Linked DNA regions of Homo sapiens: regions 2 and 3 are each linked to region 1. Evidence: promoter capture Hi-C in 16 types of primary human blood cells and fetal thymus (Javierre and others, 2016). All regions are on one chromosome and are shown on one strand. The core of a region is centred on a gene start or on the middle of the fragment in contact, and the rest is flanking DNA. Distances in the headings are between cores, read along the strand shown.

The links. The method cuts DNA at HindIII sites, captures the fragments that hold promoters and counts their contacts. A CHiCAGO score of 5 or more calls a contact.
Region 2: a contact is called between the fragment with the promoter of FAM3D here and the fragment with the promoter of PTPRG in region 1, in 2 of 17 cell types (naive CD4 T cells and total CD4 T cells). The highest score is 7.8, in naive CD4 T cells.
Region 3: a fragment that was not itself captured here is called in contact with the fragment with the promoter of PTPRG in region 1 in 1 of 17 cell types (total CD4 T cells); the score reaches 5.8 in total CD4 T cells.

What each region holds. Positions count from the first base shown.
Region 1 is chr3:61,559,799-61,563,439 of GRCh38, reverse strand. PTPRG (protein tyrosine phosphatase receptor type G) reads right to left here and starts at 1,869. Exons shown (of 30, transcript NM_002841.4): 1 at 1,068-1,869. The coding sequence starts at 1,152. RefSeq lists an enhancer at 3,092-3,641. The HindIII fragment of the contact is 7,216 bases long and covers 1-3,641 here.
Region 2 is chr3:58,664,754-58,668,394 of GRCh38, reverse strand. It overlaps FAM3D (FAM3 metabolism regulating signaling molecule D), which reads left to right and starts at 1,621. Exons shown (of 10, transcript NM_138805.3): 1 at 1,621-1,819. It overlaps LOC105377109 (a long non-coding RNA gene), which reads right to left. Exons shown (of 3, transcript XR_940879.3): 1 at 3,462-3,641; 2 at 487-842. The HindIII fragment of the contact is 2,625 bases long and covers 81-2,705 here.
Region 3 is chr3:59,083,971-59,087,611 of GRCh38, reverse strand. CFAP20DC-DT (CFAP20DC divergent transcript) reads right to left here and starts at 772. Exons shown (of 7, transcript XR_002959675.2): 1 at 690-772. The HindIII fragment of the contact is 2,321 bases long and covers 801-3,121 here.

The sequences.
Region 1 (3,641 bases), core at 620-3,119:
GAGGCAGCTGGCCTCTGCCCTCCCCAGGGGAGAGAGGAGGGGGAACTGCCAGCTGAGAGCTGGAAGTGGAGGGTCGCCGAGCCGCACACCGTTACGTGCGGTGATTTATTCTTATCAACGGCCAGTATTGTTCCTGTCTTAACCTGGCCAGAAAGGAGCGAGACTGGGTCTGCCAGCCGCGAACAGCCTGCAAAAGGGCAAAGATGAAGGTAGGCAGGGCGCGCGAGACAGGAAAAAAATCAGCCCCGGCGCGAACAGCAACCCGGCCGCCGAAACCGCCCCGGCCGCCGAAACCGCCCCCGCCCCCTCCCCGCGTCCAGACCCAGGCAATCCAATCGAGCAGAGCAGCGGAGGGAAAGGGCCACGGGCCGGGGCTAGGGGAGACACGGATCTCTCCGAAACCGCCTGCGCCCTGCCGTCTCACTGCGCCCAAGGAGGCTGCCTCACGCCGGCACCGAAGTGCTGCCCGCGCCCCAGCCCCCAGAGAGAGGGAGGACGCCCCCGACCCAGAACGCAGGCTGCTCCCCACACATCCTCAGTCCTCCGCAGCCAGCCTCCGACTTCCATTCCCCGAAACCTAGCCCTCCCAAAGGGATGGAGAACAGCAAAGCAAACCCCCACCTTCTGAGTTCCTTCAATACCCGCCAGAGCGAGGGGGCTCATCCCGGGCCCCCCAAACCCACAGAAGCATCCTTTCCATGGCCTCAGTCTCCCCAACCGCCCCACAACTCGAGTTCTCCCGATCGGCGACGAGTCAGCAAAGCAAGTCCCCCTTTCTCCCGATTCCAGCTCCCCAGGACCCCCAAAAGGGAGCGGGAGCAGACCCCCGCGTCCCCCAGCCCCCTCCCCGGCCAGCCCCTGCCTCCACCTTCCTCGACCACTAGCCTGCCTCCCTAAACATCATCCAAGCCAGCGGAGCAATCCTTTTCTCCTATCCGGGCGCCGGGCCACCCTCCACCCTCTCCAGGGTCTCCCGGACGGGCGCCGGAGCTCCGCGCCCAGGCGACAACTCCGCATCCCCAACGCGCGCCGGCCGGGGCCGCATCCCCTCGGCGGCCGGCACTCACCGGGGAAGCACACGACATAATGGAGCACGGAACTGGTGATTTTCAGGAACAAAATCCACCAACACGGTTCCAGTAACCTCCGCATGTCCGAAAACGCACATCGAAAAGAGGAAAGCAGGGAGGTAAACTTGTTGAATAAGTTCTTGCCTCCGTGCGAGCCTCCGCTAAGCCGGGGCGCTTCCCCGGCTCGCCCGCTCCACGGGCCCCCCGCGCTCGGCGGCCCGAGTCCCCTTGGAATCCGGGAAGCCGCCGAGCGCCCCCCGGAAAATCTCAAAAAGTGACCGGGAACGCAGAGCCACGCTGGGGACGATCCTCTCGGCGGAGAAAGGCTGCTTTCCGTTTAAAAAGGAGAGAGCCGATCGGGCAGGGCGCGGAGTCGGCGGCCGGCGGCGATGCCCCGGGCCTGGGGCAGGCAGGGACCGCGGGCGGCGGCGGCGAGCAGCCGAGGATCCCCAACTTGAGTCGGCAGCGCAGCACAGCCCGAGAGCCGGCGGGCGGCGGCGGGGCTGAGCGCGGCGCGGCGTCTCCGGGCTTCAGGCAGGCAGCTCCTTCCAGGGCCCCGGGAAGGAAGGAGGCATGTTTGCGAGAGGGGAAGGGGAGGGGAGAGGCAGGGGGAGCGGAGAGCCCCCCAAAATAGAAACGGCCGGAGGAAACGGAGGAAAACACAAAGGATCTCAGAGGGGCGCTGGGGCGAGGGCGCCTTCAGTCCATGCTCCTGAAAGTTGTGGCTCCGGCGCAGGCTGGGAAGGAACGAAGAGCGCGGGGCTGGAAACTGGCCATGCCTCCATACAGGAAGTAACATGTGAGCATGGATCCTGGCAGAGACTTTAAAGCCGGCGAGCGAAGGAGCGAGCGAACAGGGGGCGCGCGGTGGCGGCGGGGGCGCGCAGCCCGGGCCAGCTGGCGGCGGGCGCGCGCTCTCCGCGTTCTTAAAGCAGCCGCGCTTGGCTCCCGCCTTGCGCTGGGTCCCTCGGCTCTGCTCTCTCCGCGCGGCCTCTACTGGGACAGTTTGGGGACTGGGGGCGATTGTAGCCCGTGCGCGGAGAGAGGAGGGAGGCTGCCTTCTGGGGCCGGCTTGTTTTTTGCTGGATTCCCGTTGTTCGAGCTCTTAAAAGACGCCGCACGGTGCTCGGGTTTGGCGAGATCCTCCGCGCAGCTCGCGGATCCCGGACTTGAGGGGCCCCTCGCCCTGGCGAGGGGAAAGGGGGAGGGCGGACAGCTGCCTTTTTAAAGCGATGGGGTTTTCTGTTCGGCTTCACTGCCCTGGCATTTGCAGCGGTGAGGCTCACCGTCTGCGGCTCCTGTTCGCGCCTCCAACACAGCGCATTCCCCCGCCGGGAAACAAAGCCGAGCGGCCTTTGCACTCCGGCTACATTGAGATTTAATTTTTTTTTTTTTTCTTTTTCGGGCTTTCATTGGCCCAGTCCAAGGCTGGGGAAAGTGGGGGAGGGGAGGAATGTCGATCCCAGGATTGCGAAATCTAGCCCTTCCGAGCCCCGCATCCCCTTTCCCGGCGCCACGATGGATCGGTGGCGGAGTTTCCCCAACTCGCAGCTTCTCTGGAGAAGGTTCCCGCACCCCGGTTTGGCCGCGGGGAGGGCGCAGGAAGTGCGCCTCTTACACCCTGCAGGGTGAAAGCAGCGCCGCGGGGCCGGACTGATTTCCTGGCAGCTACCCGGGGAGCGGCTGCTTCTTTAGCAATCGGGGAGAGGCGTCCGGGGGAAATGGGAGGACTAGGCTTATCTGTAATGAGTTTTGTCCCTTGGCTCTCGGTAAGAAGATCTTTATCGCTTAGACTTCTAAGCGCCCTATTTTACATTCTTAACGCTGGGGCTAAAAGTGGGGGAGGCGGGCTTTCGAGTAAATGTGTAACTGAGCCAAGGTAATTAGCCGTTTGACATTTTTTGCCTAATTTTTCTGCCTGTGTTTCAAAGCGATCTTGACGTGGGATTGTTTTGTTTTGTTTTGAGACGGAGTCTCGCTCCGTCGCCCAGGCTGGAGTACAGTGGCTCGATTTCGGCTCACTACAACCTTCGCCTCCCGGGTTCGGGCGATTCTCCTGCCTCAGCCTCCCGAGTAGCTGGGACTACAGGCGCCCGCCACCACGCCCGGCTGATTATTTTTTTGGTGGTTTTTTTTGTTTGTTTTTTGTTTTATTTTGGTTTTTTTTGTAGAGGCGGGGTTTCACCGTTTTGGCAAGGCTGGTCTCGAACTCCTGACCTTGTGATCCGCCTGCCTCAGCCTCCCAAAGTGCTGAGATTACAGGCGTGAGCCACCGCGCATGGTTCTTGTGTTTTAAACGTGTCCCTGCTGTTTCATCCCAACACGGCAGGGTCCTCCACCCACCCAAACATCCCAACCGGATGCTAGGTTTTCAAATAAAGTACAGATGGTCGGAGATCCTCCCGTTCGATGTGATTAAGGAAGCATTTTCACACCCACACTTCCAAAAGAAAAACCTTTGAAAAGTTACGTATGGGATTACAAACTAATAAAAGCCAGGAAGTTCCTGGGGAGGGCCCTAGCTCTATCTTTAGCAGAACGGGGGTGAACACCCTCCCCCAGGGTGGGGAA
Region 2 (3,641 bases), core at 372-2,871, 2.9 Mb after region 1:
TCTTCCCCAGAAATCATTTACTCTCCACTACGGTGCTGACACCCCACCCCTCTCTCCCTTGTGAAGAGGGTATACAAGCTTCTAAATCTTACTGGGTGTGGGGAATTCCTTTTCTTTCCTGGGATGCCCCCATGCATGTGATAAATGTCTGTACCTTTTCTCCTGTTATTCTCCCTGCTGTCAGTTTAATTCCTGACCAGCCAAGGCAGCTAGAAGGGTAGAGAAAGCCATTTTTACTCCCCTACACTTGTGTGCTTATTTATATTGGAAGTGAGGGTCAGGAGGGCCCCCCTGAGGAAGTGACACTGCAGGTCAGGTCTGAACAAGACCCAGGCACCAGTTATGGGCAGAACCGTCCTAGCAGAATAAGGGAGAGCAAGAGGCAAGGAGATGGGACAGAGGACAGGACCAGTCCTAAAGCCAGTCAGAGTGAAGGAAAGCACTGCCTCGCCCTGGGATACATCCTGAGGGGGCCCACGTGCCTACCTGGGGATGGGCAGCTGGAACAGCAGAACTGGGGCCACTCCCGGCACCTCATCACACAGGGTCCGCTCCCTGCTCTTCCCTTGCACCAGCTCCCTGGGCATGCATCTTCATTTCCTGACCAGCTGCTGGACCTCATGCCCCTGAATATTCCTTCCAAGTGGGCCACACAGCCTACGGAAGCATTCAGAGTCAGCAAACAAGGGAGGAAGTTGCCAGGAGCCTGTGTGCCAAGGACCGAGGCAAGAACTCCTCCTAAGAGGAAAGCGCTTGGGAAAGAGACCATGATTTGTGACAAAGACTGGGAGTGCTGGATCAGGGGAGGGGGAAGCTGAGCCCCTCTCAGTGCACCTTGGGTCCTAAGGAGAGAGAAGGGAGACAAAGGCTGCATTCACCATTTCACTAAAAGTCTGCCACTGAGCAGCCCTTCTTTTCTTTCTCCGTCTTTCCCTTTCTCCACACCCCACCCCCTCCACCTTTAACCTCTAATTCAATATGCCCCACCCAAATCCAGAATCTTTTCCCAAACCACTTCCTCTCCCCCATCTTCCTCACTCTTGACCAAGAAGCCTCCCTTTTCCATCATCCAAGCTCAATATCTTGCAGTTGCCTTTGACCTCCTCCATCTTTCCTGTCCTGAGTTTCTTGCCTGGGTTCCCCTCTTTCCAGTCAGCCCCTCCAGCACCCCCCCACACTCTAGTCCAGAACCTCAAAGCAGGTGATCATCAGCTGCAGTTACTCGCTCTACCAGCCCCACACCTCCCAGCGCCTGGGGAGGTTGTTAGCACAGGGTCGGGTTTTTTGTAAGGTTTTTTGGCTGTTTTCGAAGGCAGATTGTGGTATCTCATTCCTGATTAAGTTGCTTGAATTCCCACCCAAACCTCCCTTGCCAAGGTCAGGATAGCTCTACAGGAAGGGAACAGGCATGGCCCTTCTCCCCAGGCCCCAGCCAGGCCCTAAGCCACTCCTCAGCCAGGCAAGACTTTAGACTCATTTCCTGCCCCGTGAGCACTTAGAATAAACTTCCTCCTTCCTTGTGAGATTGTTTAACAGGGCAGGGAGAGTTGATGGCAAACTTCCTCAAAGGAGGGGCAGAGCCTGCGCAGGGCAGGAGCAGCTGGCCCACTGGCGGCCCGCAACACTCCGTCTCACCCTCTGGGCCCACTGCATCTAGAGGAGGGCCGTCTGTGAGGCCACTACCCCTCCAGCAACTGGGAGGTGGGACTGTCAGAAGCTGGCCCAGGGTGGTGGTCAGCTGGGTCAGGGACCTACGGCACCTGCTGGACCACCTCGCCTTCTCCATCGAAGCAGGGAAGTGGGAGCCTCGAGCCCTCGGGTACGTCCCCCCAAGAATGGAAAGGGCTATGGTTCCAGGTACACATGATTGACAGAGGGGAAAATGGAGGTGGGGAGGGTGGGAAATAGGAGTGAAAGAGCCTGAGACAGAATGATGAAAGGAAAGAAAGAAGGAAACCACATAATCGAAGAGATTCCTGAGATCAGACTCAGGAAGGCAAATAGATTTCATCTGAGGCACCAGGCCTGATCAATGAAATTAGACTGTGATAAAAAGGATTCTGGGGCTGGGTTCGGGCTCAGGCAAAAGCATGCTATGATTGATTAGCTATGTCTGCCATGGGCACAAGAAGGAGCTGTAGGGCATGCCAGCTAGGGATTTGATAACCCACACTGCAGGGTTTTTTCCTTAACCACAGGGGCCCCTCAACATTTATTCTTTCATTCACTCATCTATTGATTCAAAAAAACACATTCCAATGATCAACAGTGAGCCACACAAATATTTGAAAAATGAATAAAAAAGAAAGGAATGTTGTTCTTTGGCCCCAAATCTCATTTTTCTCATAAGGTAATGATCTGAAAAGTTATGACAAAGGTGCATGGACTTGAGAGATTTTCTAGCTATGTAATATTGAGCTAGTCCCTTTCACTAAGACTCAGTTTCCTCATCTGTAAAATGGGAGAGAGAGTCTGAATATCCCCCATCAATCGCTGAAGTTCTCATTGTCTACGCAACTATGATAATCATCACTGAAGTACATAAAATAACATGTATGATGTGCTAAGTGCTCTCCATATAATAACACATTTAATCTTCCTATCACCTCTACAAGGAAAGCACCATGATTATTCCCACTCTGCAGACGGAGAGCCAAGGCAGTGAGAGATTTAATAACTTCCCCAGGCAATCTGGCTGCAAAGCTTTTGCTCCTGCCCACTATGCCACACTGACTCTACACTGCAGTGGATTCTGAGTCCATGGCTGGAAGTGGGCTGCCTGGGTACAAGAGTGTCCTTCTAGATGATTCATCCAGTGAGCATTAATTGGGTCAGGTAAAAAAGACACAATGATTAACAAGATGAGGTATCATACATGGTTCTAACCAGAAAGGGAAAACTTGCACAGATAGTCATTTTCAAAACAGTTTGACATACACCATGGAGATAGCCTGGGAGTCAGGGCAGACTTCTCCCAAGAGAATGCCGGGTCCTTCAGGAGTGAAGGGCAGGGGAGGAAAAGATTGGGTCAGTGGAGAATCTCTGAGAAGGGGGAACAGGAGGAAAGAAAGAGGAGGGCAGAGCAGCTCAAGCAGGAAAGGGGTAGTAGCTGGTGGTGGAAGGTGAAGTCAGTGAGGTTGTTGCGCCCAGGTCTGCACAGGCTAGGGAGGAGTTTGCCATTGCTCAGCATCTGCCCAAATCTGTGCATCTGCCTGTCTGCCCTTGGGCACCTGGAGGTTTAGGGGCTTCTGTCTTATGGCCATGGTGTGCACACCTCTTCCTGAGCTCAACTCCATCTTTACACACAGACCCTGCTGCTTCCCATAGGAATGTTGAAGCCTCCAGAACCCAGGGGCCTAACTTCCTCATTGGCACTTCCCTGCGGTGGGGGATGCTCGAAGTCATCATTTGCCAACATTTCCTGGTGCTGGGGCAGCTGCTCCCCCTTGGAGGAGACCTACCTGTCTACTACTGGCAGTCCTGGTGAGACTTCAAGTGGGCAGCCGACAAGCCTGCCTGGGGGACTGGCAGCCCCCACCCAGCCTGCAGTCCCAGAGGGCAGGTGCCCTGGAGCGGAGCAGACATTTCCTACAGTTGGTGCCAATCCCTTGCTTCTGGAGGCTCAGAGGTTTGCTCCCCCA
Region 3 (3,641 bases), core at 712-3,211, 2.5 Mb after region 1:
GCAAAGAGGTGGGATCCTGGGCTGCAGGTGAACCAGGAGGGATTCCAAACTGTGTCAGTGATGCCTCAATCTCAGCAAACACATCTTCAACCCTTACCCATATACTTCTTCACACCCTCTATGCTGTATCAGTCGTTTGTTCCAACCCTAACTAGATGATGCAAAATGAGAATTGCTTATATAGCGAAAAAATCCAGTGGGGCAAATCTGACTATAGGCATCGCTGGACCCAAGGACTCAGACAAAGCCACCCAAATCCAACTTCTCTCTCCCCATCTCTGCATACACACCATTGTCAGACAGGCTCTCACAGTGTTCCTAAGATGGCTCCTCCTCATCCATATTCAATAGAAAAGACTGGGAGCTCTCGCCCCAGCATTCCCAGCCAGCCAAAGGTTCATTCTGTCTCATTGGTTCCAATCTGGTGGCAAGGCTTTCTCTGAACAAATCACTGTGACCAGGAAATATGATATGCTAATTGGCTGAAACCCAGGTAAATGTTCAACTCTTGAGTGGGGCATTGAACTAATACTACTTAATGGGCTAAAAGATAAATGGGTATATAATTACCAGGAGAAGGGAAAATAGGCAGTAAAAGAAAAATATTTCAATGGTACTGTAACAACTTCCATTGGTAACCCTGTTAGGCACTATGAGTTAGTGAACCTGATTAATTTGTAAACACTTACACTCAAGATGACAAGCCCCTGTCAGTATTATTCTCTTCTCACTAAGGGTGGGGAGTCTTTCTTAGCACTGCTCCCCAAAACACCTGTAAGTAAAAGGAAAAGAAGGAAGCTTGATTTGTTTGGGATGTTTTCACCAGAGAGATTAATGAATGTTATGTAAAAGATGAACTGACATAATTAATACATAAAATACTAACCTCTCAGATTCCCAAAAGAGAACCCATGGAAGTCAGAGCTCTGGTCTGCAAAGTATTTGATTGCTCATTGAAAAGCTATGAAATGCATTTGTTGTGGGTATAAAGAGAAATAAAAAGAGAACTCCTAGAGAAGTAAAGATTCAAGAATAATATTACAACACAGGACATTCATTAATGTTATTTATATTAAAATGAACCTGCCTGCTACTGTGGCCTGAGCTGGGTATAGAGACCTATTGAGGTGGAGCAACTACCCAAAAGGACCCCCTTCCAACCTAACAATTGCTACAAAGGCAAACATTCAGAACAGGTTTTCTTCAAAGGGTAAATAGAAAACAGTGGAGCTAGGTGCTAATCAAAGGCTAGCTTTTTCTTAGCAGCTATTCCGAAAACACTAAGCAAGTTTTCAACAATCCATCTAAAAGTGCAGTGTTATAAATTAATGGGTAATCATGATAATATGCATGTAATCACACAGTGATAGCATATAATAGCAATGGGTTAACTTTTACTCACTGTTTATGGAACGCCCTCTGAAATTCTTTATATCTTAGATCAGCAGTGGAACTATTTATTATGTGTATTGAATGAATAGATGCACGCATGAATAAAGGAAATGAATTAACTAGTAATTGAACTTTGGAAGTTTTCACACAGGGTAAATTTTCTATTACAAACTTTTATGTGTAAGAGTTGGAGTGTTTACTTATTGTTGGAAAACAGATTTGTTCTGTAAGCTCATTTCAGGCTGTGTTATGATGTTATTATTTAGTAAGGCTATAACACCTATACCATCCTAGCCTATACAGGATTTTTGGACAAGTTAGAAAGGTGTCCCTTAAGAATAGATGCAGCCCCCAGGGCATGTGACTTGGTGAAAAGATGGAGTCTTTGTATAAAGATAAAAGGTGGTTCATTCTCCGTAAGACTTGGGGAGATGGAGAGGGACCCGGCTGGATTTTTACCCCCATTATATCATCTGCGTTGAAAGCATTAAGTGGTACAGCTTTGGCCATCCTATAAAAATACAGAAAAATTATTAAGAAAGGAGCAAAAATCATGAATTTCTTGCTATTTTTGTATTGTGGAGTCACCTCCCTCAGGCTGCATTTTATTAGTAAAAGATATAGTCAATAGTTGTTTTAAAAAAACCTAATAGAATATATTTGAATGTTAAAAATTCAGATTTCCCTTTAATTATTTTTTCAACCTACTTTTTTTACTCAACCTGATTTTTCCTGACTGCTAGGTGAAATACAAATCTCAAAAAGGGTCATACACCTACAATTTATATATGATCACAAAAGCTCTCTAGTCTAATTTTATGGAAATTTTTCAAATTAAAATGTTATTGGGTTCAAGCAATTCTCCCGCCTCAGCCTCCTGAGTAGCTGGGATTACAAGCATGCCACCAAGCCTGGCTAATTTTTGTATTTTTAATAGAGACAGGGTTTCATCACGTTGGCCAGGCTGGTCTTGAACTCCTGACCTCAAGTGATGCATCTGCCTCGGAGGCTGCAGCGAGCCAAGATCGCACCACTGTACTCCAGCCTGGGCAACAGAGTGGGGAGACTCCGACTGAAAAAAAAGTGTTACTGGTATCCCAAAGATTATTTTTTACTCCTTCTTTTTTATCAGTAAAGGTTATTTTTCTTTGTTTACCCTATAACTTCCCAATGGCTACTGTGATCAACCAAAGTTCCCATTCTAATTCTAAGAGATGGGATACACTGAGAGCAAGAAAAATGGAGAAATAGTGATGGAGAATGGTAATGGAATCTATTTTATCCTGAAGCAATAACAAAATGAATTCAATTTGCACAAAAAGATTCTGATTTGCAGCCAAAGGACTAAAAAGGTCTTTCTGTTTACTTTTCATTAAGTAAGTATACATGCCATATTCTTTTCTGGCTAGCTTATAGCCATAAAATGAGCTTGCTCCTCCCAGATGTTAGATTCTGCAAGCTGAGGCTTGTTCTGCGTGTTGGAATGGAAAGAAGTGAACTGTGAGCCAGGACATTTTGAGTTCAGCTTTTTAATAGTTGTCTCCCAGTTTTCTTAGCTGTAAGATGGGTGGGAATTGGGCTAATAGGTGATCATCATAATAACAGCAGCTACCATTTTTGACAGCCTACTATGCCACACACCTACCACTAAATGAATACTTGAAATTATCTTATCTATTTCTTAGAAATCTAGTGAAGTAGGTGATTGCACAGGAGAGAAGCTAAAGCTTGGACCTGCCAGAGTCCCAGAACTTGTCAGGGCCCAAGATAGGGTCAGAGGTTTCAAAAGTCAGTCTTGGATTGCTTCTTGCCTATTTACATGCTGACTGACAAAGCAATCTGACAGGAATCTCAGACTAGAGCCGAGAAAAATGCAGGCTTTCTTTTTTCACATACCTAAATGTGTTTATTCTAGAAGCATATATGGAGCTTTCCTAACATGTTAGCTAGAAAGAAACATGATTTCTCTCTTAATAAGCACACTAAGGATGGCTGTGTAGAGTCGGGGAATATAAATAATCACTGCCAAATACACTGCTGTGTCATATACCAGATATTTACATTTATCATAGTGTAGATTCGGATTTCATTTTACACAACTCATATTTTTCTTAAGAATTGATAGGATGCAAAGAAGAAAATGACACAGGCTGTAAAGCCAATTCCAAAAGAAGCATTCTAGAGATATTTTGCAAAATTGTAGCATCATGAAACAAATGGATGGTTTCTGAAGTGGTTGCTCTAGATGG